Linked DNA regions of Homo sapiens: all the other regions are linked to region 1. Evidence: promoter capture Hi-C in 16 types of primary human blood cells and fetal thymus (Javierre and others, 2016). All regions are on one chromosome and are shown on one strand. The core of a region is centred on a gene start or on the middle of the fragment in contact, and the rest is flanking DNA. Distances in the headings are between cores, read along the strand shown.

What was found. The method cuts DNA at HindIII sites, captures the fragments that hold promoters and counts their contacts. A CHiCAGO score of 5 or more calls a contact.
Region 2: a fragment that was not itself captured here is called in contact with the fragment with the promoter of ATP13A2 in region 1 in 4 of 17 cell types (naive CD4 T cells, fetal thymus, non-activated CD4 T cells and 1 more); the score reaches 8.1 in naive CD4 T cells.
Region 3: a contact is called between a fragment that was not itself captured here and the fragment with the promoter of ATP13A2 in region 1, in 1 of 17 cell types (neutrophils). The highest score is 6.2, in neutrophils.
Region 4: a fragment that was not itself captured here is called in contact with the fragment with the promoter of ATP13A2 in region 1 in 1 of 17 cell types (neutrophils); the score reaches 5.4 in neutrophils.

Annotation. Positions count from the first base shown.
Region 1 is chr1:17,007,824-17,014,716 of GRCh38, reverse strand. ATP13A2 (ATPase cation transporting 13A2) reads left to right here and starts at 2,789. Exons shown (of 29, transcript NM_022089.4): 1 at 2,789-2,988. The coding sequence starts at 2,979. RefSeq lists a silencer at 2,625-3,154 and enhancers at 3,645-3,694, 4,458-4,537. The HindIII fragment of the contact is 3,526 bases long and covers 730-4,255 here.
Region 2 is chr1:16,604,740-16,611,632 of GRCh38, reverse strand. NBPF1 (NBPF member 1) reads left to right here. Exons shown (of 18, transcript NM_001405701.2): 2 at 2,854-3,125. Among named protein-coding and RNA genes, the nearest start is that of NBPF1, 5.4 kb to the left of the region's middle. RefSeq lists enhancers at 3,362-3,861, 3,862-4,363. The HindIII fragment of the contact is 4,959 bases long and covers 1,436-6,394 here.
Region 3 is chr1:17,370,535-17,377,427 of GRCh38, reverse strand. PADI6 (peptidyl arginine deiminase 6) reads right to left here and starts at 5,232. Exons shown (of 16, transcript NM_207421.4): 1 at 5,067-5,232; 2 at 4,195-4,372; 3 at 1,929-2,001. The coding sequence starts at 5,182. RefSeq lists an enhancer at 1-238. The HindIII fragment of the contact is 3,678 bases long and covers 2,658-6,335 here.
Region 4 is chr1:17,267,028-17,273,920 of GRCh38, reverse strand. It overlaps PADI3 (peptidyl arginine deiminase 3), which reads right to left. Exons shown (of 16, transcript NM_016233.2): 6 at 5,959-6,084; 7 at 3,510-3,688; 8 at 2,939-3,042; 9 at 2,743-2,854; 10 at 474-581. Among named protein-coding and RNA genes, the nearest start is that of MIR3972, 7.4 kb to the left of the region's middle. RefSeq lists a silencer at 2,981-3,224. The HindIII fragment of the contact is 9,501 bases long and covers 127-6,893 here.

The sequences.
Region 1 (6,893 bases), core at 1,540-4,039:
CCTGTAATCCCACTTTGGGAGACCAAGGTGGATCTCTGAAGCACAGGAGTTCGAGACCAGCCTGGGTAACATGGCAAACCCCATCTCTACAAAAAAAAAAAACAGAAAAATTAGCTGGGTGTGGTAGTGCTCACCTGTAGTCCCAGGTACACAGAAGGCTGAGGTGGGAGGATCACTTGAGCCGAGGTGGGAGGATCACTTGAGCCCAGGAGGTCGAGGCTGCAGTGAGCTGAGATCATGCCACTGTGCTCCAACCTGGGCAGCAGAGAGAGACCCTGTCTCAAAACAAACAAACAAAAAAAACAAAAACAAAAACTGAAACCCCACTTTACTGTGTGTCTAGACAGCCATAATCCTACCAACAGGGTTTGTTACTAGGTGAAAAAAATCCTCTTTTGTTGCAAAAATCTAGTGAAACTAGAGAAGTCGAAAAGTAAAGCAATGCTCTGGAATAAACTCGCCCAAATTAGTGATTTCTCAAGCTTTTTGCCACTGGGACCAGGCCTATTACGCCCTCTCCGTGGGTTCCCAAGAGAGCCACAGCCTAGAAGGGAAGCTGTTCAGTCGGTTCTCACCCACGTGGGACTGGAAATTTCAGACACGGTTATCCGGGAAGACAGCCTGGGCCACAGACCTCCTCGATGACCACACACCGAGAGCCACTTCCCCAAAGGTAACCCCAAGCAGATGGCAAGGCCTCCCACATGCTCTGTGGTTTGGAAGGAAGCTTCCTCTGGCCTCCTCCCTCATTAAGGAGAAGGGACGAGCTGCAGGTGCGGCTCCTTCCCAGCTGGCTCAGGGAATAGAGCCCCTTTAAGGCCAGGCAGCCTTAGCAATAAAAAGAATGAAGGGGGCACCCTTGCAAGGCAGTCCCCCATGCAGTCCCCAAGCCCTCTGCTTTTATTTATTTATTTATTTATTTATTTATTTATTTATTTATTTTAGAGGGAGTCTCAGTCTTTCACCCAGACTGGAGTACCTCTGCTTTTATGAAGCCGCTAATCCAGTGCCAGGATCTAAAGCAAGCAGCTGGCTTCTACCAAGTTCCTGCCATCTCATTTCATCCTCTCCATGCCTTCCATTTTGTAGGTGAGGGGAAGGAGAGCCTTAGAGAAGGAAAGTGACATTTTAAAGCTCACACAGCTAGAAAGCAACTCATGCATCCATGTCTTTCTGATGCCAGAACCCAGCCCCTTGCCACTGTACCATACTGCCTCTTGCCAAGGCCACCTGGGCTAGCCATTTCCAAACCCAGCCTTCCTGCTGCCCTGGAGGCTGGGTTCCTGCCAGAAATTGAGCTAAGCCCTGGGGGAGGACATGGGAGTTCTGAAAAGTTAAGCAGCCTGCCTCCCCTGGAAGTGTCACCGGAAGATGAAAGAACTCTTGTCACCTGACCCAAGGAAGCCAGTCCCATGGCCCAGGTGGTCAACAGGAATGACCCGCAACTGGTTGGCTCGGGCAGCCTGCCCCAGCTGAGTAAATGGCTCCACTGGCACCCAGCTGCTCAGGCCAAAACCCTGGGGAGCATCTTGAATTCCACACATTCCTGCACCCCCACATCCTATCCACCAGCAAGTCCTGCCAACGTGTGTTCCTGTACCAAATGTTCACTGGGATCTTGCTATGAATCAGGTGCTGCTTTCCCTCCTGGGGTCTATCCCCTACCCACACCCTCACCACCATCACAGCTGTGTCTCCTTCCAGCCCCTTCCACAATAGGGATCGTTGGAGTTTTCCTTTCCTTGACTAGGGCTACTTCCCAGTAGACAGCAGTCTCCGCAGGGACAGGGGCATCTCTGTTTTGTTCACTCTCACGTTCCTGGCTCCCACAGTGGTGCTGGCACTCCATAAATTCATACTGGACAAATGACCAGTGATCCTGCCCACGTCTATCCTTGGCCCTAACGTGAACCTTCCCTTGTTTGCCCTAGGATCTCACAGATCCACTCTCCCCTTTGGAGCTCCTCTGTCCAGAGGTCCTGGAGACAGGGAACACTATGCCTGTGCCGGTCACTATGGGGTAGCAGGATAAATGCTGCACGCAGGTAAGACATCTCTGGTGCCTTTCAGGGGTCTTCATGAATCCCCCCAGTGCAGGTGTGTCTGCAGGTCACGCTGTGAGGCTTCTCTTTCTCTGGCATTTCAAGGCCTCCAGTGCATCATGGCAGACTCTCCCTGGGTCTCTGTGGGCCCACATCTGACCCTGTGAATCTCTGGGCAGGTGTGTCTTCCTTCTTTGCATTCATCAAGCAGCGCCAGGCACTGTCTCAAGTGCTTGATACGCATTTTCTTTTTTTTTTTTTTTTGAGACAGAGTTTCGCTCTTTTTGCCCATGCTGGAGTGCAATGGCATGATCCCGGCTCACAGCAACCTCCGCCTCCTGGGTTCAAGCGATTCTCCTGGCTTAGTCTCCGAGTAGCTGGGATTACAGGCATGCGCCACCACGCCCAGTTGACAAGCATTTTCTTGTGTGATCCTCGCAGCAGTTCTCTGTGAAGCAGGCATTGCTATCCTACAGGTTGGGAAAAGAGGGCCAGAGAGGATCAGTGACTTGCTCACGGTCGCGCGGCCTGGAAGACATGGAGAGCTGGACCAGCACGCACAGTCCCTAACCACTGGGACGTGCTGGCGGGGGCTACCTCCGTGAGGTGTGTGTCTCCGGTCGCCCCGCCCCCGGTGTGTGCGGAGGAGCAGGCGGGGACTACAAGTCCCGGCAGCCCCGGCGCGGGCGCTGCGAGGGCCGCAGAGGGCCGGGCGGGGCTTGCGGCGCGCACGGAGGGACTGCGGCAGTGTCGGAGCCGCGCCGAGCCTGGTGGCCCAGGTGCCCCGCCCGCGTCAGCCCTGCTCCAGCCCCGCGCTAGCCCAGCGCCCCTCGCCCCGGGCCGTCCGGACCGCGCCCCCGCCCAGGGCCTTGCGCACGCCGGGGCCCAGGCCGAGGGCCGCAGCGCCGGGGCCGGCGATGAGCGCGAGGAGCCGGCATGAGCGCAGGTGAGTGCGGAGTCCGGGTCGGCCCCGAGCCCGGCGCGGTCCCCGGCCCGCCAGTTGTCGTCACCCCTTGGAGGGAGAGGGGAGGCGACGCCCCCCACCGCGGGGTCGCGAGCCCAGGAAGCGGGACCTGGTTGGGGATCCTGGCCCGTCCCCTCCCTTTTGACGGGGACTCGGCCCCGGTTTCTTCCCAGAGACGCCGGGGCTGGGGATGGCGCCGCCGCTCGCAGCCGGTCCCTCCCCTCCCCTGCACCCCTCAGCCGCGGGATTGGAAGCCGGGCGCTTGTGCAAGAGGGTCCTGGGGCCGTGCGGGGACGGGGAGGCCACCCCACGCCCACTTAATCGGATCCCACCCCGAGTGACGGATGTCCAGGTGGGGGAGACGGCTGCATCCTCGGGCCTCTGGGCAACCCCTCTGGGCTGAATGAATGAATGAATGGCGTTGGGGGAGTCGGGACTCCATTTCCTGGGTAGATGTCCTGGGCCACAGCGCCACTCCTGACCTCCTGCCTCAGACCCCAGAGAAAACCCGTCACACCCAGGGCCAAGGGCCACACCCTCCATGCAACCCATCCCTGGCCAGATGTCCTACGCCCACTCCTCCAGGGTCTAATTTAAATCCCACCTGCCGGGAATGGGGCCAGTCCTCCTCCCCTATCCAGAAAGGTCTCATCTCAGTGTCTGTCACTCAGCCCCCAGCCCCACAGCCTAGAGTGCACCCCCCGGCGAGGGAGGGGAAGGAATGAGGAAAGACAGCCCCTAGAATCCAGATCCAAAGATGGGAAGATGGTTCACACACACTCCCGCCTCAGCCTGGCAGAAGACAGGAGCTCCCCGCCGCCGGGAACCACAGCCAGGGAGGAGGCAGCCGCCCTGGGCCGCTGCCAGGTCACCAGCAGGAAGCCAAGGCTTCCGCAGGAAATAAGAGGTCCCAAATGGCTCTAGCCCCTCTGATCCACAGTGCTGGTGACACTGCCCCGAGCTGTGACCTCAGACGAGGTTCAAGTCCAGTCTTGGCCCCTCATAGCTGTGTGACTTTGTGCTTGTCAATCTACTCCTCTGGGCCTCGTTTTAAATGGGAATCCTAATCTGTACTTTTCATGGAATGGCTGTGGGAAAGAATGTGCCCATTCAGACACACTCATTTCCAGCTTCTCCCCTTTCAAGCTCTATGACCCTGGACAAGGGATTCACATGCTGTTCCTCAGTTTCCCCAGGTGTACAATGGGGATAATAATAGTCACTACCCCAGAGGGTTGTGTGTGAAGCTTCATTGAGTTAGCACACTGAAGGGCTTCCGCAGGGCATGGTGAGCACTCCATGGGAGCTGCTGTTCATCAGAAGAGCAATGACAGGCCAGGCGTGGTGGCTCACGCCTGTAATCCCAGCACTTTGGGAGCCTGAGGCAGGCGGATTACTTGAGGTCAGGAGTTCAAGACCAGTCTGGCCAACATGGGGAAACCCCGTCTCTACTAAAAATACAAAAATTAGCTGAGTGTGGTGGCATGTGCCTGTAGTCTCAGCTACTTCAGGAACTGAGGCAGGAGAATTGCTTGAACCTGGGAGGTGGAGGGTGCAGTGAGCTGAGATCTCTCCACTGCACTCCAGCCTGGGAGACGGGCAGGGGGGAAGGGGGGAACGGGGGGGGAAGACTCCATCTCAAAAAAAAGAGCAATGCCATCATGAAGGTGCTCTCGCCCCCCCACACAGCCTGTGGGTGCCTGTTCTGGGCTGGTCTGAGCCCACAGAAGCCCTGGGGAGACTGGGCTGTGGCTGGGGATAAACAGATGTACTGCAGGAGAGAGTGCCCTGGGCTTGATCCCTGCAGGGAGGGGCTCTGGAGGTTTCCACAGCTGTGACTTCCTCCCTCAAGTTCCACTCCCCTTTTCCTCTTTGCCAAGGTTGACTGAGAGAGTGTCATTGTGAAGTGACAGTCATACGATTGCCATGAGGAAGAACTTCCCAGGGGGACCGCTGTTTACATACTGGGGACTCTGCCCTCTTTTTGAAGAACCTTTTCTTCATAAAGAGTCTTGAGGCCGGGTGTGGTGGCTCACACCTGTAATCCCAGCACTTTGGGAGGCTGAGGTAGGAGGATCAGCATGAGGCCGGGAGTTCAAGATCAGCCTGGGCAACAAAATGAGACCCTGTCCCTACTAAAAAAAAATTAGCCTGGTGCAGTGGCACCTGCCTGTAGTGCCAGCTACTTGGGAGGCAGAGGCAAGAGTACCTCCTTTAGCCTAGGAGGTCAAGGCTCCAGTGAGCTAGGATCATGCCACTGTGCTCCAGCCTGGGTGACAGAGTGAGACCCTGTCTCTTTTAAAAAAAAAAAAAAAAAAAAAAAGGAAGAGGCTCAAGCCCCTCCCCCCAACTCCCAGCACCTTTGCCTTCAAGCTCTGTTGTGTCCAAGAGACAGACATTCATTCATTCAGTCAGTCGGTCAATCAGTGTTTCCTGACCCCTGAGCACATGGCAGGTACTGTGAGCAGTAAGGGCAGTGACACCCATCTGAGCCTGATGCTGAGGGGAATGTCAGGAGTAGATGTGCTGGGCAGAGAGGACCTGGGAGTAAGGCCAGCCCTGTTCCAGCTTTGAGACAAGTCTGAGGGCAACTGCCCCAGAGGCTCAGTGCTCTCGTTTGTCAAACTGGGTAAGAGAGCCCACCTTGTGGGTTGGTGCGGGAGGAAATCAAATCAGCACCGCAGGGATGGCTCCTTTCCCATCATCCCTGAGCCCGCTGGGCTGTTGGCCTGAGGGTTTTTTTTTTTTTTTTTGAGTCTTGCTCTGTCACCCTGGCTGGAGTGCAGTGGCGTGATCTCAGCTCACTGCAAGCTCCACCTTCTGGGTTCACACCATTCTCCCGCCTCAGCCTCCCAAGTAGCTGGGACTACAGGCGCCTGCCACCACGCCCGGCTAATTTGGTTTTTATATTTTTAGTAGAGACAGGGTTTCACCGTGTTAGCCAGGATGGTCTCAGCTAGTCTCCACCTCCTGACCTCGTGATCCGCCCCCCTTGGGCTCCCAAAGGGCTGGGATTACAGGCGTGAGCCACTGCGCACGGCCGGCCTGAGGGTTTTAAGGTACAAGGAGCAACTGTTGAATGGGCCTAGGGAGCCGTGGGACAGCCAGGGCTTCAGACAGGGTGATGTGAAAGGAGAAGAGAGCCTGGGAAATGGATAAGCAGAAGCCACGCCCCCCTGACCTGGGAGCCGGGTCCTGCCCACCTGTCCACGCAACCCCCCCAGGAACTTCAAATGCTTCTACCTCCCTGTGTGCTGGATGCTTCGGGACTATCATCCTAGAGATGAGAAATGGAAGCCCAGAGAGGCAAAGGCACTTGCTGTATGAAACACAGCATCAAAAAAGAAATTCTTAGGAACAAATGATGGGCAAAAAGACAAAACCCTGTCTCTACAAAAAAAATTAGCTGGGCATGGTGGCCTGTGCCTGTAGTCCCAGCTATTTGGAGGCTGAGGTGGGAGAATTGCTTGAGCCTGGGAGGTCAAGGCTGCAGTGAGCTATGATCGCAACACTGCACTCCAGCCTGGGTGACAGAGAGAGACTGTCTCAAAAAAAGACTTATACACGAAAACTGTAAGCTGGGCATGGTGGCTCACGCCTGTAATCCCAGCACTTTGGGAAGCCGAGGCTACAAGAGTGATAAGTAAATAAATGAATGAATGAATGAATGAAAGGACATCACAACCGAGGTTACCTGGCAGGGTTGATACGTTAGCCATGTACCCTGTGCACAGTGAGCCCTCTAGGAGTGTTGAAGCCAGAGTGCTTGGGGATGGGGCTGCTCAGAGGCTGGGGGTGCTGTGCCCACAGCAGCTGCCTGGGGCACTCTGGACTCTTTGGGTAGAAATTTTAGAAGGGCTCGCCGGGCGCTGTGGCTCACGCCTGTA
Region 2 (6,893 bases), core at 2,666-5,165, 400 kb after region 1:
TTCCTGTTGATTTGTAATACTTTATTCTGGATATGCCTCCTTTCTAGGATTTATATGTATTGCATTTCCCTTTTTTCAATCTGTAGCTTGCGTTTTCACTCTTTTATGGTGTTTTTTCATGAAGGGAGATTCTCTTTTTTTTTTTTTCTTTTTGAGACAGGATCTCACTCCATCGCCCAGGCTGGAGTGCAGTGGCACAATCACAGCTCACTGCAACCTTGACCTCACAAGGCTCAGGTGATCCCCCTGCCTCAGCCCCCAAGTAGCTGGGACCTACAGGGGAGTACCACCACACTCAGCTGTTTTCTGTATTTTTAGTAGAGATGGGTTTTGCCACGTTGCATAGGCTGGTCTGGAATTCCTAGGCTCAAGTGATACACCTGCCTCGGCCTCCCAAAGGGTTGGGATTACAGGCATGAGCCACTGCACCCAGCCTGAGATTCTTCATTTTAATGAAATTATACTTTATTAATCTTTTCCTTTATGGTTACTGTTTTTTGTGTCCTGTTTAAGAAATCAATGCCTAACCTAAGAGTATGAACACATTTTTCTGTGTTAACCTTATAACGATTTTATTTTAGTTTTTGCTTTTTTTTTTTTTCAGACAGGGCCTCAGTCTATTATTGCCCAGGCTAGAGTGTGGTGGCAGGATCTCAGCTCACTCAACCTCCATCTCCTGGCTCAAGTGATCCTCCCACCTCAGCCTCCTGAGTAGCTGCGACTATAGGCATGTGCCACCATGCCTGGCTAATTTTCATATTTTTTGTAGAGATGGGGATTCAACATGTTTCCCAGGTTGGTCTCGAACTCCTGGGCTCAAGTAATCTGCCCGCTTCAGCCTCCCAGAGTGCTGGAATTACAGGTGTGAGCCACCCCACCTGGCTATGATTCACTTTTTACTACATGGATGTGTCTGCTTGATCCAGCACCATTTATTGAAAAGACCATCCTTTTCCTTCCGCACCATGTGGCACTTTTTTTCATAAATCGAATGACTGTATGGTCATCTGATTTATGAAATTAGTGTGGGTCTGTTTCTGTTTCTGGACCAACTTGGGTAACATAGTGAGATCCCATCTCTACAACAAATAAAAATAATAAATAAATGAATAAAATTTAAAAAATAAGTGCGTAGAGCAGATGGAGTCATAGGTGATAATTTATAAATGATTGCCAGTTTCTTGGCTACATATGGGTGTTGGTAATTCAGATGTGTTGGGTGTTCAGGCAAAACGTATTAAGTGAATTATATGGTGTTCAGAATGATTGCTAGATGTTCATTGTGACTTGAATTAGATGTTATTTGAGCCTCACAGAGCTACAGTTTTTACTCTTTTATTTATTTGTCTTTTTAAAATTTTTACAATCTTCCTGTCAAGGCAGTAACTCTTTTATACTTAATTGTTCTTAAGTATACTTAATTACCAGAAAAGCTTTATGGATCATACCTAAATAAGTGTTAAGCCATTTAAGGGGCTCACGTGCTGTGATATAAACAATAGTATTCTACATAATAGTTTTAGGACTACATCAAATAATTTTTTTTTTTTTCTTGAGACAGTGTCTCGCTCTGTCGCCCAGGCTGGAGTGCAGTGGTATGATCATGGCTCTCTGCAGCCTTGATCTCTCAGGCTCAAGCACTCCTCCCACCTCAGCCTCCTTAGTAGCTGGGTCTACAGGCATGCACCACTGTGCCCGGCTAATTTTCTCCTTTTTGTAGACAGGGTTTTCCTGTAGTGCCCAGACTGGTTTCAAACTCCTGGGCTGAAATGATCCTCCCACCTTGGCATCCCAAAGTGTTGGGATCACAGGCATGAGCCATCACACCTGGCCATTTTAGTTTTAATAATTTTTATATTTTTCTAATTTAAAAGATGTACTAAAATCTCTTACAGCTATTATTTATGAATATAGTATTCATTGTTGTTATTATGATGATTTTGTATGTGTTTAATCTGATTTTCAATATAAGCTCCTGGCAATTAGAGATTTTGTCTCTTTGATTCACCAGTGTATTCTCAGTACTTGACCTTGCCTGGCATGAAACAGATATTGAATAAATATTTCTTAAATGAATGAATGAATGAACATACTAATACCATATTCAACAACCTCCGAGTATCACAGTTTTCACCATCTAACAAATAAAGTAGCTTGTATAGAGTAGAGTCACAGTCAACCTGCCATAAAAGGACATGTCAATGAAAAATAAACCTTCGTATGTGTAGCTGCTAAGATTTTGGGGCTTTTGTTACCGTAGCATAACCTAGCGAAAGCTCAGAGAGACAGCATATACAATATACGTGTACAGATAGACCAGCTAGACCAGTAGATGAGATTCCAAAGCTACTTTAATAAGCATTAACTAACGACACCCACACTCTCTTAATTCCCTAACAGAAATAATGGAATTCTTGTTCACTAAGATCTGCCTCAAATATTACTTACTTTGTGAAAACTTCCCTGGCTACTCTAGTATTTAGTCAGGACTCTTTATTTTTTTCCCCCCAGGCTGGAGTACAGTGGTGCCATCATAGCTCACTAACCGCTAACTGAAGGCTCAAGGAATCCTCCTGCCTCAGCCTCCCAAGTAGCTGAGACTACAAGTGTGCACCACCATGCTCAGCTTATTTTTCCTTTTTTCTTTTCCCAGACGGGGTCTTACTATGTTGCCCAGGCTGGTCAGGACTGTTGATTACATATGACAGAAACCCAACCACCTCTAGTTCCCACCACCTTTCAATCTGCTCTTCCCTGGGTCTTCCCAGTCTCCGTAAATGGCAGCTCCATCCTTCAAGTTACCGAAGCCCTAAATCTCAACGTTAACCTTGATTTCTCTCTTTTATCTCACAGGCAATCTGAAGGCAAATCCTGTTTAGACCCAGGCGAAGGTTCCCGGTGACCCGGGCTCTCACCAGCCAATTGTCCCTTGCCGTCCTCCTGAGGGTGCCTGGAGCTTAAGCACTGTGTGCTCTTGGCCTCCACACTGGGGATGCCGCTGACTCCCACTGTCCAGGGCTTCCAGTGGATTCTCCGAGGCCCTGATGTAGAAACTTCCCCATTGGGTGCACCAAGAGCAGCCTCACATGGTGTGGGCTGACATCAAGAGCTGCCAGATCCAACAGGTAAAAATCCCGAGGCATTGCCAGCTCAGTGGGGTCAGAGAGTCCTCTTTGTATTATGACTCAGATGTGAAGGGAAGATGTCAAGGTCCCTAAACATTGCAGGGCCTTGCTTGGCATGCAACAGATATTAAATAAATATTTGTTAAATGAATGAACAAATATCCACAGCATGTGCTGCCCATGAGCTGCAGTGCCGTGGTCAGGTAGAAGTGATTTTACTTCAGGAGAGGACAGTGTTCTCTCCAGGACTTTTCCTTACTAGCTAGATCTGCATCCCTCTCCTCACTCTTCCCCTCTCACCCCCCATTCTCTGCCCCCATTTCTCTCTGTTTCCACCCTGCTGTCCCCTTTCACCTGCTTTCTGCTCTTCAGCTTTGGTGGCTCACCCCCTCCCTGTCCACCTGCATCCCCCAGGCTAAGGCTCCTACACTGTCCTGGGTGGGGAGATGTGTCTGGTTTTAGGCAGTGCCCTCTGGATGTGTCCAGGATGGGGAAACATGGCTCAGTTGCCAGTATAATGGGTTAAAAGTGGCCACTTTTGAAGGCCTTTCCCATCTCCCATTCCAGAATCCTGTAGACTTAGAATTTATGGGCCACAGTGGAATTCTTGGTTCCCCAGGACCTTGTGGTGGACGTCTTCTTTCACTGAGCATTCATGGGGTGACTGTGAGGTAGTAGGCCCTGCTCTGGGCTAGAGGCCCCACAATGAGTAAATCTCAGGTCACTACCCCATGGAACCCACTACTGCAGGCATTGAGAGGGGGAGAAAGAAAGGGGCATGGCCTGTTTGTGTTCTTCTCATGTGGTCACCCACAGGTCCTGGGGGAGTAGGAGCCAGTGCAAGGAGAGAAGTCCATTGAGAAAGGCAAATGGATGACATCAGACCCAGGGGCTGAGGTCCCCAACTGCAGCTGGGTAGCTTCTGGAGTGGACAAGGAGCAACAGGGAAGTTCGTGGCCTGGTGTTCTGGGATCCACTGTCTCATCTCATTCTTGTGGGCACCAGAACGTATCCAAAGACAAGACTCAGTGTCTCTGGCAACAGTGAGCCAGAGATAGAATGTGTTTCAGAGGAGGAGGAAGGGGTTGTTGTACCCCATGGAAACAGTATATTGTTTTACAGTAGCGTGTCTTTCTCTAATAACTACTTAGCGTGTTCCTGTTAATGGAAAATATTGGTGGTGTAAGTTTCCCCACTGTTCTCATCTTCATGTAAATTTGTTCATTTCCTTCCTTCCTTCCTTCCTTCCCTACTTCCCTCCAACTCTCTTTCTCTCTCTTTTTATTCTTTCCCTCCTTCCCACCCGCCCTCCATCCCTCCCTTCCTTCCTCCTTCCCTCCTTCCCTCCCTTCTTTCCTTTCTTCCTTTCTTCTTTTCTTCTTCTTTCTCTCTCATGCTCTCTCTTTTTCTTTCCTTTTCATTCTCTCTACTTTTTTGAAGAGATCACACTGTACTGAAACCTACATTATTTTCCAAAATCTCTGGATCTGCTTCTGTCTTGCAGGCAGAGAGCTCATCCAGTAGCCCTTAGCTCTTCCCAGCCCCCTCCTTTGATTTGTGGGTGCCACTGCGGCAGCTGCTGAGTCTCAGTGGTTTCTGGTCTTCACCAAGTTCTGCCCACCCAGATGGTTTTTACCTGTCCTCACCAGAAACCTGCACTGTCTAGATTGCTGAGGCTGCTTCTCCTTAACCGATCTGCTATCTGTATTCCAGGGGCACCCCAGGGTTAGAGGTAAATGGCACAGGCCTTGAAATCTCCAACTGCTCTGACTCCAGGTTGGTGCACTTCAATGCCAAGTACTAACCACACAATTACAGGATGCCACCAAAACCTTGATATGGGGCTGCTGCATCCTAATTAAAAAAACAGTTAATAGACATTATTTTTTAGAACAGTTCTAGGTTTACAGAAAACTTGAGTGGATAATACAGAGAGTTCTCCTAGGCTCCCCTGTCCTCCAGCACACAATTTTCCCTACTAGTATGTTGTATTAGTGTGGTCCATTCATTACAATTGATGAACCACTGTTGATACGTCATTATCAACTAAAGTCCATAGTTTACATTAGAGGTCATTCTTTGAGTTTCACAGATTATGGGTTTTGGCAATTACATAATGTCCTAAATCCCCAATACAGCATCATGCGAAAGAGTTTCACTGCTGAAAATTCCCTGTGCTTCACCATTTCACGCGTCCTCCTCTCCTCCACCCCTGACAACCACTCACCATTTTACTACTTCTATCTTTTTGACTTTCCAAGAATGTCCTAGAGTTGGAGTGGTACAGTATGTGGGTTTCCAGACTGGCTTCTTTCTAGCATTATGTACTTTAAGTTCCTTCATGTCTTTTCATGGCTTGATAACTTGTTTTTTAAAATCAGTGAATCAGATTTCCTTGTATGGCTACAACAGTTTGTTTATTCTTTCGCTTGGTGAAAGACATCTTGGGCACTTCCAAGTTTTGGCGATGATGAATAAAATTGCTGTAAGTACTTCTGTGCAGGATTTTGAGTGAACTTAAGTTTTCCAAAGTGACTGTACCCTTTTGATTTCCACTAGCGATGGAAAGTTCTGGTTGCTCCTCATCTTTGACAGCATTTGGTGTGTTCACCTTTTTGAATTTTAGCCATTCTAAACAGCTTATCTGCCCCTACTGTGGAATGATGTGACAGACATAGAATAACACTTACAGTGATTCTAGTTCAAAATGAGGCAACATGGAAGGGATAAAGAAGTCACTGACCCAAAATAGTTTGGAAATGGAGCTGGGCAAAATCCAGCAGAAGTTTCTTAATTAGGATCGACAGCCTGGGACCGGCCCGCCGTCCTGTGGGTCTTTGCCTCTGGGCTGTCTGCTGTGCATTTCTTGGAACCATTATTATTTATCTTTTTTTCTCACACTTTTTTGGGTATGGCTTCTATCGCACTCCAAATGTTTTTGAGATTCATCCATGTTGTTCTGTGTGTCACCAGTTTGTTCCTTTAGCCATTCCATGGAATGAGTGTATCACAGTTTATTGATCCATTCTTGTATTGACAGATACTTGAATGTTTCCAGTTTTTTGTATTATGAATAAAACTGCTATGAACATTCTTGTATAAGTCATTTTCTGGACATAGGTTTTAGTTTCTCTTGGATAAATGCTTAGGAATTACTGAGTCATAGAATAGGTAGTTGTTTGTTTCTGTAAGAATATGCCAGATATTTTTTCCCAAAGTGCATATGCTGTTGTACCTTCCAACCATTAGTGTACGAAGGTGAGAAAGCTTTTGCTCCTTCCAAAGAGGCCTCTCTATATACATGTAATTTTTTCTAACTGGAGATAGGCTGGTGACTTCAGGGACATGAGCATGGGATACAGGACACCTGTCATGACCACCACCATGAAATTGGGATTCAGGAAGGAGGCTAGTCATATAAGGAATCCTGTGACCAGCATGAGCTTCTATCAGGCCACACAGGGCACTCAAGTGAACAGGGCATATGGGGTCCTGGGGTCATGGTGAGAAAGGGTCTCATTGGTAAAACCTTTTCCCTTGGGGAGGTAAATAAATTCTTGGTTCCTTCTTGGTAGCCCTTGAAGATAAGGATGGTCAAACAAAATAATATTATATCTGCAGAAAGTCAGATCTTGGTAAGATTTACTAGTTGGGAATCCAATGTTAATGCCAAGAAGCAGCTGCCAGTTGGGATCAAATGTGAGCCTATGGATCAAGGTGCGTACTCAAACACAGAGAGCTTTTTGAAAGATGCTACCAGCAGTTTTT
Region 3 (6,893 bases), core at 3,247-5,746, 360 kb before region 1:
ACACTTCACTGACTGGAAGCAGCGGGACAAAGGACTGAGAAGAGCTCCTCTGAGCTCCAAAGGGTTCTGAGAAGGAACAGGCAGGAGGAAAAATAAGTTGAACATCCCTGAAGCGTTCAAGTGTGTTAAGAGGGGATTGACCAGCAGGTACGTGGCTCATGCCTGTAACTCCAGCACTTTGGGAGGCTGAGGCGGGAGGATCACTTGAGGCCAGGAGTTTGAGACCAGGCTGGGCAATATGGTAAAACCCTCTCTATGGGGGAAAAAATAAAATAAAAAAATAAAGTCAGCTGGGCATGGTGGTGCGTGCCTGTAGTCCCAGCCACTCTGGAGATTGAGGTGGGAGGAGCCTGGGCAACATAGGGATACCTATGTCTGTATAAAAAATTAACCAAGTATGGTGGTATAACACCTATGGTCCAAGCTACTGGAGAGGCTGAGGTGAGAGGATCGTTTGAGGCTGCAATGAGCCATGATCGTGTCTCTTCACTCCAGTTCAGCTTAGGCTACAGAGTGAGACTGTCTCAAAAACAAAAAACAAGACAAAACAAAACAAAACAAAAACACAAAAGAACCCACACAAACCAAAAACTTAGTGTTGTAGATGTTAGAGTTCTAAAAGAACTCCGTTGGTGGTAGGTGTCTAATTTGAGAAGATTCTAGAGAAATTGAGGACACAGATGGCTCCTCAGGAAGAGAGGTGGGAGAATAGACTTTAAAAGACAACCTAGGCCCAGCACAGTGGCTCACGCCTGTAATCCCAACACTCTGGGAGGCTGAGGTGGGCGGATCACGAGGTCAGGAGATTGAGACCAGCCTGGCCAACACAGTGAAATCCCGTCTCCACTAAAAATACAAAAAAATTAGCCCACTAAAAATACAAAAAAAATAGCCCACTAAAAATAAAAAAAATTAGCCCACTAAAAATAAAAAAAATTAGCCCACTAAAAATAAAAAAAAATTAGCCGGGCATGGTGGCGGGTACCTATAGTCCCAGCTACTCGGGAGGCTGAGGCAGGAGAATGGTGTGAACCTGGGAGGTGGAATGGGCAGTGAGCCAAGATCGCGCCACTGCACTCCAGCCTGGGCAACAGAGCAAGACTCCATCTCAAACAAAAACAAACACCCTAGAATCAGGTTTAAGAGAGATGATATGGCCAGGCACAGTGGCTCACGCTTGTAATCCCAGCACTTGGGGAGGCCGAGGCAGGTGGATCGCGAGGTCAGGAGTTCGAGACCAGCCTGGCCAACATGGTGAAAACCTGTCTCTACTAAAAATATAAAAATTAGCCAGGCATGGTGGCACACACCTATAGTCCCAGCTAATCTGGAGGCTGAGGTAGGAGAATCACTTGAACCTGGGAGGCAGAGGTTACAGTGAGCCGAGATCATGCCACTGTACTCCAGCCTGAGTGACAGTAAGACTCATCTCAGAAAAAAAAGAAAAAAAAAGTAGATGTTATAGAGCTTGTTCCTGAGCTGATGGGGGTGATCTAGAGGGCGGGGAAGGGTGGCGGCTTCTTACATTGGTAAGAATTGACAAAGGAATGTTCTTGAATAAGAAAGGATCTAGTGAGACAAGAAAGACTAACTTTGGACCAGATGCGTCAATTAGTAACAAAGGAAGAAGGTAGGCACTAGACAGGCGTAGGTGGGTAGATGGCAGCGACACGGAAGTTCTGGCTGTTTCTATTCTCAGAATTAGGTTGGCAGTGCACGAAGATGGAGAAGTGACTGAGCGTCGAGGAGGGAGTGTGTGAGTGGGTATCTCAAATGAATCCATTTAGGAGTTTGTTCAGGAGTTCCTGGGGCCCACAGGAGGCATCTTGTTACCTGGAGAATCTTTTTTGGCTCCTCCTACAATCCCACCCCTTCCCCAACCCCAGCGGTGAGTTGGGCCCCAGGCTCCCAGTTGGAGCAACACTCACCAATGCCAGTGAGGTACAGCACAGCTGTGCCCACGGGGGCATCCTCGTTGGGCCCATAGTATGTGACCGAGACCTGTGGAGACAGCATCCCGAAACCATAGGCAGTGTTGGACGGGAGGTGCCAGGAACAGAGCCCCAGGCCATGTGCCGAGTCTAGGCGTGGGATCTTGGTCTTGTGTTATGGCTTCTGAAGTCTCACCTATGAGCTGGTATGGGGCCACAGCCCTGCGCTTAGGGCTGAGTCAGTCCCCTAAGGACTTAGAACCTGCCATGACCCCCAACCCTAACCTTGTCGAGAGCCAGGCTTGAAACCACCTGTCCACGTGAGAGCTGTATCCCTGATGGCGGGGTGATCAAGGGACTTATCCCAAAGGGATTTAAGAAACAGGCTGCCTGGCTCTAGAGCCCAAGCTTGAAACCACACTATACATCCTCCCTGCTAAACCCACTCTCCTGGGGTCCCATGTCCTACTCCATAAGGTGCACGGTGGGGAAACAGGCCTCTGGTGGCTTAAGCTGCTCACTAAGAAGGACACCCAGGTGAAGAAGCAGCGTTGGGACTCAGTCCCAACTGTGGGACTGTGTCCCACACCAGCCTCTACTTTATGCTTTTAGAAAGAGACCTGCCCTCCAGCCACTGACCCTGACCACAAGGTCTTGGTCATGAACCAGAGACCCAACCATTGGCCAGAGCATGTGACAGATCCACCCCATCCTTAAATAGAAGCTTTAGTCCTCTAAGTTCAAGGTTCTTTGTTGGCCACTCCTGAGGGTCCTGGAGGCCGAGCCCTGGGCAGAGAATGGTTCTCAGGTAGTCTGGAGTTCCACTGGCACCCACCGTGGCCTCCATTCTTATCTGAGATACCTTTTTTTGCGATGGAGTTTTGTTCTTGTTGCCCAGGCTGTAATGCAGTGGGACAATCTCAGCTTACTACAACCTCCACCTCCTGGGTTCAAGCGATTCTCCAGCCTCAGCCTCCTGAGAACCTGAGATTACAGGCACCTGCCACCACACCTGGCTAATTTTTGTATTTTTAGTAGAGACAGCGTTTCACCATGTTGGCCAGGCTGGTCTCAAACTCCCGACCTCAGGTGATCTGCCCATCTCAGCCTTCCAAAGTGCTGGGATTACAGGCATGAGCCACCACACCTGGCCAGAGACACTCAGTTCCTACCTAAGTCCACTACTTGCCTCTCAGGGAGTTGCCTGCCCTGGGCACACAGCGCAGGTGGGTGTGTGTACCTACCCCTCTGCAGCAGACATCTCCAGTAGGTCCTGTAGGGTGTGGGGGGAGGGAGGGAGAGCTCTCCCAGTCCTGAACTGCTCCATCATGGTTCTCACCCCCAGCCCCGCACTGGGTGCACCTGGAGAGCTTTAAACCAGCGGCCAGGATCCTAGCCCTGAGGTTCCATTGGTACCTCAGGTTTAATTGGTAGAGGGGGTGTGGCCTGGGTATTGATGTTATTAGCTCCCCAGTGGTTCTCACCTGCAACCAAGGTTGAACACTCCTGCCCTGAATGAGCCACCTGCTTCTACCACAGGAGAACCTCCCCAACATAGGCACCCCATTAGGGAGACAGCTTACCCAGGGGAGAATACACCCTTGGGCTCAAGCTCAAATCCTGGGTCTATCCCACTCTAGGTAGGCTACTTAGGTTTAGACACAGCACTCTGTGCCTTAGTTTCCTCATATGTAAAGTGATGGTAGGCCAGGTGTGGTGGCTCATGCCTGTAATCCCAGCACTTTGGGAGGTGGAGGCAGGTAGATCACTTGAAGTCAGGAGTTTGAGACCAGCCTGGCCAACATAGTGAAACCCTGTCTCATACTAAAAATACAAAATTAGCCGGGCATGGTGGTGGGTGCCTGTAGTCCCAGCTACTCGGGAAGCTGAGGCAGGAGAATTGCTTGAACCCGGGAAGTGGAGGTTGCAGTGAGCTGAGATTGTGCCATTGCACCCCAGTCTGGGCAATGAGCGTGAGACTCAAAAAAAAAAATAATAATAAATAAATGAAAATAAAAAATAAATCCCAGTCCTGCTGGTTGCTGACTTGGCAGGGCACCTTCGCTAGGTGCCTCTGTTTCTTTGTAAAATGGGGTCATGGAGTGCCCACACCACTGGTCTGTTGCAGACACTGGATGAGATCAGACGTGCAAAACAACGTGTTTCCCAGGCTCGAGTCACGTCTGCAGCCAGGAGGAAGCCCCAGTGGCTGTGCTAGGTCCCACCCCGGGAGATGCCCCTCACCTCTTCCCCTGAGGCTTACCTTATCCGCATCCACGGAAGGGCTGGGCGATGTCATCTTCACTGTGGCGTACGTGGGATCAGACAGGGGCCACCAGATGGTGGCGTCCTCCTTCTCAGAAATCACCGTGTTGGCCACATCGATCAAGACCCTCCCAGAGCCATGGATGGTGAAGCACTGGCACTTCTGGGGGGCACACCTGGTTTGCCCGGTAAGAGACACGCGTCAGGGCACAAACACCTTCTCAGCCTAGGAGATGACTGGCATGGGGGAGGGGACGGCTCCCGAATCCTCATTCTCCTTAGGGTGTTGAGGCAGAGTGGTCTGGGGTCCTTATTCCTACCCACCCCCTCCCAAAGGACCCCTGTGTTTGCTCTCCGACGGGCTCCAGCCCAAACCCCATCCCGCTACCGACACTGCAGAAGTTACCACAGCTACATCTTAGTAATAAGCACCCAATTCCCAAGAAGGGGGGAGCCACAAAGGATCCCCATAAAGAAAAAGATCAGGGCAAGCGACTCAGGAAGTTGTACTGTGACCCTGCTGAGTCACCTCCACCTGCAGGCTCCAGCATCTAGCAGTCTCCCTGGCCTGCTCCTCACAGCCCCCCGAGGCCAGCGTCCCCATGGTTTCACAGATAGGGGAACAGAGAGGCCAAGGCCCTTGCCTCACTAAGAGTCCATGGCAGCTGCTACAGGGCAGAGGCAGGATTTAAGTCAGAATTCTGCGTGGTTGGAACTGGGAGGCCCCCCACTAGAGACCCAAGGCTTCCCAAGATGGGGCAGGATAGTGAGGCTAGAGAAGTAACCCCCAACTCCCAGATCAAGGGGACTGGGTCCCAGGCCTGCCTGCCTGTCTGCCTGCCACCTCTGGCAGAGCTCCCAGCATCTCACCCGCTGAGATCCAAGCAGATTTCTGTGCCCAACACACAAACGGCATGGACAGGGCTGTCCAGGGACAGGTGGATGATACTCTGGAAGGACATGGCTCGGCCCTCCACGCTGACCATCCTCAGGCCTGCACCGCAGCCCTCACTCAGCACAGCAGCCTCAGACGCCCCAGGGCTCACCCTGCCCTTCCCTGTTATACAGTCCAGGCCTGTGCAGGCCACCCCCTTGTTAAGAAGGGGAGGGGTCAGCAGCTGCCCAGGTGTCACTGATTTTCCCTCTAAGAGCTTCCTGGTGGCTGATAGTCTGGGGAGCAGGTGGCATCAGAACCCCTTCATCACCAATTTATCAGGCACCTCGTGCCTGCAGAGCTGCAGGCCAGGGGAGTCTGAGGCCGGTTGCTTAGGCATCTGTGGCCTTCAGCTGGGAAGAGGAGGGGCTCTGGGAAGTCGGTGCCTTGGAGTGATCAACTTGGCCATGTTGCTGGAGGACTCAGCTGGAAGCTGTCGGGGCAAATACCTGCAGAGGGCAGTTGGGAGGAGTTGATGGTAGCAGTCAGGATGGCAATGTGTGGCAGCATGCCCAGGCTCTGGGGTCTCAGTTCTAGGGTGTGTGTCTCCTGGAAATTGACGAAGGAGCTCGGCAAAGTGCTGGACTGGTGGTTTGGTTTTGTTTTTGAGACAGGGTCTCTACCCATGCTAGAGTGCAGTGGCGCAATCATAGCTCACTGCAGCCTCAACCTACCTGGCTCCAGTGATCCATCTCAGCCTCCCAAGTAGCTGGGACTACAGGTGTGCACCACCATGTCCAGCTGATTTTTGTATTTTTTGTAGAGACCGGGTTTTGCCATGTTGCCCAGGCTAGTCTCGAACTTCTTGATCCCAGAAATCCTCCTATCTCGACCTGCCAAAGTGCTGGGATTACAGGCGTGAGCCACAGCGCCTGCCTAGACTAGGTGGTTATTAACCCTCTGGTGGTTTCAAAAATTATCAAGGGTGCTTGTTAACATTGCAAATTCCTGGGCCCAGAAGGTCTAGGGTGTGGTCCAGGAACCTGCATCCCAACCCCCAGTGATTAAGGTGAGCTCTTTGCTTACAGCTGTGTCGGTGGGGGTGGGGGCACAGCAAGTGTTAGTGGAATGAATACATCAAGCCAGGGTCATCAGCTGCTACTCATCTCAGCGGAGCCCACAGAGCAAAGAAATAGGAACCCTTCTCTGGCACAAGGAACTTACATAACTGACTTTAAAATTGTGTTCATTTCATGTCTTAAGCTTGGGTTGAGTTTTTTTTTGTTGTTGTTTTTGAGACAGGGTCTCACTCCGTTACCCAGGCTGGAGTGAAGTGGCGTGATCATGGTTCACAGCCTTGACCTCCCAGGCTCAAGTGGTCTTCCCACCTCAGCCTCCTGAGCAGCTGGGACTACAGATGTGCACCACCATGCCCAGCTAATGGTTTTACATTTTTCCGCAGAGATGGGGTCTTGTTATGTTGCCCAGGCTGGGTCATGCTTACTCCTGAATAGGTACCACAGTCACATGATTCCAAGTTCAGAGTCTCCCTCCTGCCCTGTGCCTTACCCACCTGCAGGTGGAGGTAGTGACAGTGTTACCCGTTTCTTATATGTCTTTCCAAATAAATGTTATGCATGACCAAGTAAATATGTGTGTGTATCCTTTTCTTCTTCTCTTCCTCCTCCAATACTAGCATACAGTTAGATAAATTTGAAGGGGCTTTATGGTGAGAAAGGGAAGGACGTGGAGTCTATTTTAAGGTTAAGGGAAAAAGGCTTCTGCAGGTTCCTTCGAGGTTACATCTCGAGACTAAAGAGAAA
Region 4 (6,893 bases), core at 3,628-6,127, 260 kb before region 1:
CTGTGAGGCCAGGGCCAAAATGTCATTTTTACTGATGAGGAAACTGAGGCTCAGAGAGCGGTAGTAACTCACGCAACATCACACAGCATGTAAGTAACGGAACAGGGTTGGTCTGACCCTAAAGCTTGTGCTCTGAACAGGTGCACCATCCTGCCTCCCCTATTTAGGGCTGCCAGATTCAGTAAATAAAAATACAGGATGCCCAATTAACTTTGAATTTTAGATAAACGACAACTTTTTTAGTGTAAGTATATCCCATGCAATATTTGGGACGTACTTACACCAAAAAGTTAACCTGTTGCTTGTCTGAAATTCACATTTGACTGGGCATCCCTGCATTTTATCTGGCAACCCTACCCTCATCCCTAAAGAGCACGGTTCCCACTGCTGCCCTCTGTACCCCACACCCCGGTGTGGCCCCTGGGGTAAGGCCTCTCAGCTCTCAGGGGTGGGCTGCGGCCGGGACCACTCACCAGGATTCTTTTGTAAGGGAAATCCTGCAGTTCCCCATTCCTTGGGGAGTCAAAGACCACCGGGAGGGTCTTGTGCGGCGCCTGAACGTAGCCCAGCTCCATCTCATCCTGCAAGTGAGGAGAGGCGAGAGACGCACAGCTGTGACAGTCAACAGCTGCCCCTGCTGGCTCGGCTCTGAGCCCTGTGGGGCAGACTGCTCACCAAGTCCCCTGGCCCAAGCATGTTTTGTGCTTGGAGGCGGACAGGACCGAGGTCAGGGTGCCTGCTGACTGGAGGAGGGGCTGGAGGCTCAAGGAGGGGGTGCACTTGTCTAAGGTCACACAGCAAGACAGAGGCCGGAGGTGAACGAGAACATGGACATGACCTTGGGGGTGTCCCTGTGAGTACTGGGCCAAGGCAGGTGGACACAGAGAAGCACTCACAGTGGCCTGAGTTGGATCCATAAATGTGCCCAGGTCAGTCCTGACCCCTCTGGTTCTGGAGGAAAAGATGGCCCAGTGTGAATGAACTTCACATCCAGGTCCTGCCCTAAACTCTTTATAAACATTAACTCCATTCATCCTCATGACATGCCTGGGCGTGGGCACCATAATTATCCCATGTGACAGATGAGGAAAATGAGGAACTAAGAGGTCTAATTATTTATCCAGTCCGGGCACGGTGGCTCACACCTATAATCCCAGCACTTTGGGAGGGTGAGGCGGGAGGATTGCTTGAGGCCAGGAGTTTGAGACAACCCTGGGCAACATGGCAAGACCCCATCTCTACAAAAAATTAGCTGAGCCTGGTGGCTGCACCTGTGGTCTCAGCTACTCGGGAGACTGAGGCAGAAGGATCACTTGAACCCAGGAGTTCCAGGCTGCCAGTGAGCTGTGATCATGCCATGGCACTCCAACCAGGGTGACAGAGAGACACTGTCTCCAAAAAGAAAAATAAATTCAAAATATATTAATTTAAAAAAATAAATAAAAATTAAAAAATATTTGTCCCAAAGCTCACAGCTAGTTAGTTGGTGGCACAGCCAGGCTCTAAACCCAGCCCATCGTGCCCCAGAGTCCTGCCCCAAACCCTCTCACTGGACTGACCTCCGGCCAAGAGGAAAGCTCCTTAACTTGGAATTCAAGGTCTCCGACCTCAACCCTTGCCTTTCTCAGAACCAGTGCCCTGACAGAGGAGAACACACAAGGTTCTCTCTCCTGCCTCCCACCCCCGGGCCTTTGCGCATGCTCGGTCTCTGCCAGGACCACCAACCTGTACAGCCTGGTGCTTGGCAGCCTGAGTCCTAGCACTGCCTTTACCAGCTCTGTGGCCCAGTCATGCTCCCCTAAGAGCTCCTGAATTATGGGGGACTTACAGGGGGTTATCAAGAAGATGAAATGATGCTATGCCTGGCCTGCAGAAAATGGGGCATAAATGGCAGAAGTCATGTGCCCTCATCTGCCAAATCTGGTCCAGCTCAGATGCTCTCCCTCCTGGAGGTCTTCACTGATTCCCTGGGCAGAGGTGATGCTGCATCCCCCAAACCCTACTGGTGCTTTGCTGGTATAGCCTCTGCACCCTAGATATTTCTTTTTCTCTCTCTCTCTCTCTCTTTTTTTTTTTTTTTTTTTGTTGTTGTTGCTGAGGCTGGAGTGCAGTGGCACAATCACAGCTCTCTGCAGCCTTGACCTTCCTAAACTCAGGTGATCCTCTGACCTCAGCCTCCAGAGTAGCTGGGACTACAGACACACGCCACCATGCCCTGCTAATTTTTTAACTTTTTTGCAGAGACAGGGTTTCACCATGTTGCCCCAGCTACACACTAGATAGTAGGAGTAGGTATTTTTGTAGCAATCATTCTGCACATCAAGGTTTCTCAGCCTCGACACTACTGAGGCGTGGGACTGGATGATATGTTATTGTGGGGGCTTGTCCTGCGCACTGTCTGCAGATACTGCAAAACGTCTCCTGGGGACACATCGCCTCTTGATGAGAACCACTGGTCTCAGCTGTTGAGGGCAGGGAGTGTGTGTCTCACACCTGTGCCACCCCTGTGGGCCTAGCCTAGTGCCTAGCCCAGATCCGGTGGGTGAATGGGTGTTGAATCCAGGATCAGCGTGGGTCTCCAGAAGGTTCTGGAGAGAAGCCTCTAGGTCTCACATTAGAAACGGCAGCAAGTTCCCTGGGGAGCACCCAGGTCCTCCTGGATGTTTCTCGGTGGCCCCCAAATGAAGGCCTCTCTCTCCAGGATGGCGTCCTTGCTGGGCCCTGCCCAGTGGCTGTGGTTACCTGGATCCAGCGGTCGTTGCGGTTCTCGGCCTGTGGGCAGATGGTCAGCTTGCAGCCGGCCTTCCTGGCCAGCTCTGCCACCGCATCCACAAAACACGTGTTGTTCCTCACACTACGGACAAGCCCAGGGAAGAGGGGCTCAGGATGGAGCCGGGGCCTGGGGGCCAGAGGGACCACCCACTGCCCCAAGACTCACCGGCACACATACACCTCTAGGGGTGGCAGAGTGCTGGGCGTCATGATCCAGGGTGCCACTCGGAACACCACAGTGTCAGTGAAGATAGGGGATGCCGAGAAATCCTGCAGGGGCAGACCAGGGGAGAAAGAGCACTGGACTTGGAGTCCAGAGGCCTGGGGGGACTCTGATTCCACCACTGTGGTCCATAAGAAAACCCCTTGCTTCTCTGCAAGATGGAAATGAACCAGAGGGGTGGTCAAGAAGTCTGGGGTCTTTCACACCAGTGGTGCCTGGTAGACTTACCAGGAATGGAGTCCTCCCCACTGCCCTTTATTATTATTATTTTTTGGAGACAGGGTCTTACTTTGTTGCCCAGGCTGTGGAGTGCAGTGGGGTGATCATGGCTCACTGCAACCTCAACCTCCCTGGGGTTCAGGTGATCCTCCCACCTCAGCCTCCCAAGTAACTGGGACTATAGGTGTACACCACTATACCTCGCTATTTTTTTTTTTTTTGTAGAGATGGGGTTTCACCATGTTGCCCAGGCTGGTCCCGAGTGGAGCTCCTCTTGAACCCCCTCTGTCCCTACCTCGTTGGAGTCGTCCAGCAGAGTGACATGGAAGGAGATGAGTCCTGTGAAGCCGGCATCAGGGAAGGACAGGCCTTCCACGAAGAAGCGCTCCTCATCCCCATGCAAGCGGGGTACCTCATAGGACACCTTATCTTGGCCCAGCACATGCCTATAGGCCTCACACACATCCTCAGGACCTGGAAGGGGAGGGACGGGGTGGCTGTGACTCCCTGTGGGCCCAGGGAGCATGAGTATGAGGGACACAGGAAGAGGTCTGCAGCCTCACCAAAAATTCCAAGTCCTCCAACAACTCCCTCCTTTCACCTCCACTGGCAAAGGAGAGGACAGGTAATACACAGTGGGGGCCACGGCTGGGGGAAAGGGTCTTCCTTTCTAAGACTGGCGCTCATACCTTTTTGGAGCACAATTTGGCAGCATCCAACAAAGTAATGTTTACCCCAAGCCCAGCAATTCCACTGCTAGGTATCTTTCCTACAAAAATACATCTACAGGCTGGGCACGGTGGCTCATGTCTGTAATCACAGCACTTTGGGAGACCGAAGGCGGTGGATCACCTGAAGTTAGGAGTTCAAGACCAGCCTGGCTAACATAGTGAAACCCTGTCTCTACTAAAAATACAAAAATTAGCCGGGCGGTGGTGGTGCACACCTATAATCCCAGCTACTCAGGAGGCTTAGGCAGGAGGATTGCTTGAACCCAGGAGGCGGAGGTTGCAGTGAGCCAAGATCACACCACTGCACTCCAGCCTGGGCATGGAGCGAGAATCCATCTCAAAAAAAACCAAAACCAACAAAAAACAAAACAACAACAACAAACAAACAATAATAGGTACAAAGTCACATAATATTTCTGTACAAGAGTGCTCGATATTCATTAATTCATCAAATATTTACTGTGCAACTACAGTGCACCCATGGGGCACGGTTCTGGACTTGAACAAAGCCCCTGACCTCAAGCAACCTGCATTGTTATAAAATCAAAACACTGCAAACCACTATGATGTTCAGAGAACTGTGTAAGTCACAGCACCTCTATGCTTAGGAATATTATACAGCAGTGGAAAAGAATGAAGTAGAGCTCAATAAATACCAGAAAAGGTGTGTGGGATTATTACTTAATGAAAGAAGCCGGTTGGAAAGCAGCATATGGACACACGCTGGAGAACATGTAGAATAAAGTTGGGAAGCACACATCCCAACTCGTTAACAGTGACAATCAGATTCAGGCCAGGTGCGGCGTCTCACGCCTATAATCCTAGTACTTTGAGAGGCCAAAGCGGGTGGATTGCTTGAGCCCAGGAGTTCACGACCAGCCTGGGCAGCATGGTGAAACCCTGTCTTTACAAAAAAAAAAAAATTAGCAGGGTGTGGTGGTACATGCCTGTAGTCCCAGCTACTCGTGAGGCTAAGGTGGAAGGATTGCTTGAGCCTGAAAGGTGGAGGCTGCAGTGAGCTGAGATCATGCCACTGCACTCCAGCCCGGGCAACAGAGCAAGACCTTGACTCAAAAAAAAAAAAAAAAAGTCAGATTTAGAGACGGGTAGAGAACTCTCAGGTTTCATTTTCTATACTTCCATATTGTCTGATTATTTAAAAAATAAGCGGCCAGGCACGGTGGCTCACGCCTATAATCCCAGCACTTTGGGAGGCCGAGGCGGGCAGATCACAAGGTCAGGAGATTGAGACCATCCTGGCTAAGACAATGAAACCCTGTCTCTACTAAAAATACAAAAAATTAGCTGGGTGTGGTGGCACATGCCTGCAGTCACAGCTACTTGGGAGGCTGAGGCAGGAGAATCGCCAGAACCCAGGAGGTGGAGGTTGCAGTGACCCGAGGTCACGCCACTGTACTCCAGCCTGAGCAACAGAGCGAGACTCTGTCTCAAAAAAAAAAAAAAAAAAAAAAAAAAAGCATCTTATTACTTGTATACATTTTTAGTTTCTCAAAGGCATTTAGATTTTTACTTGTATTTCTTGTGATTTTGGCAGACTATGTAAAACAACAGCCATCTATATTTGGGGGGAATACAAACTGAATTAATTGGGTGAAATCTATGGTGTTTGGGGTTGGTTTTACAAAACTTCAGCGAGACAGACAAAACAGTGATAATTGTTTAATCTGAGTGACAGGCACATGGGGATTCACAGCACTGCTTTTTGTGTATGTTTGAAATTTTTGATAAGAATTTCTACACATGCTTAAAATGTATTTGAAAAGGTCATTCATCAAATAAAATGACCTCAGGCCAGGTGTTGTGCTGGGGGCACCAGTTCATCAGTTCCAAAGCCCCCACTTCTGACTGTTCTTACTGCGACCCGCCACCCACCAGGGCATCTCCCGGAGTGTAAGCAGGACCTGCCCATGGCCCAAGGCAGGAACAGGAGGTTCCCTGGTAGGCAACCTGGCAACAGGGCACAGATGGCAAGGGGCAGTGGCACAAACTCACCGCAGATGTGGAAGACCTGTGCCCGTTTGGCATCATAGCTGGAGGTATGGAGGACAAGTTTGTGGTCATCAAAGAGGGCTGCAGGGCCCTGCGTCCGCAGGACCATGACAGACATGTCTTCCAGGTCTGTGAAGCCAGACAGAGTGGTAGTGACTCAAGGGAGTCCTGGCCCCTGGCCCCTTCCTCTGCTGCCCAGCTCCCTCCCCAGGTCAGTGGGTATCAAGACCTGGGTCTCCCAGCCCTAGCTTTGTGAAAACCCTGGAAGCCATCAAGAACAAACCATGAAGACATCTATGCTCTCCTGGACTCATGTTTCCTCAATTGCCCAGAGAAACATGAAGTGTGGCATAGCCAGCTGGTGTCTGACACACAACAGGTGCTCCAGAGAAGCAAGGAGGGTAAGGCCATGTGGGCGTCGTGCAGGTAAGGGTTCTGGCCTCCATCCCAGCATCACTCCCTGTGACCCTGGACAAGCCCCTCCCTTCTGGAGCCCCAGCATCCCCATGTCCAATGGTGCCCACTTCAGAAGGCAACCGTGGGCATCTCCCGTGGACAGCACCTAGCATACCCTGGAATATTGCAGCTCATTCTCCATGGGGCTGGAATTCAGGACAGATGGACTTAGCAAGAGGTGGGGGAGTCACAGAAATGTAGGCCAGAGGTGCTGAAGGAGGAGGCCCAGATTTGGGGTTGAGAGGGGAGGCCCCAGATCAGACACAGTCTTCAGGGAGTCTCCTGGCTTCTGAGTCTCAGCATCCTCATCTCTAAATTGGGGTGATGATATTGTCCCACTTGGATGATTCAATGAGAATTTGGGGAAAAGGCCTGGCACACAGTAGGTGCTCAAATAATGCTAGCATCCTCTGCTCCCCTGGAGGAAGAGAATGGCGAGGTGGCTCATTTCCAGAGCTTCTGCCCTGGCATGTGAGTGCTCA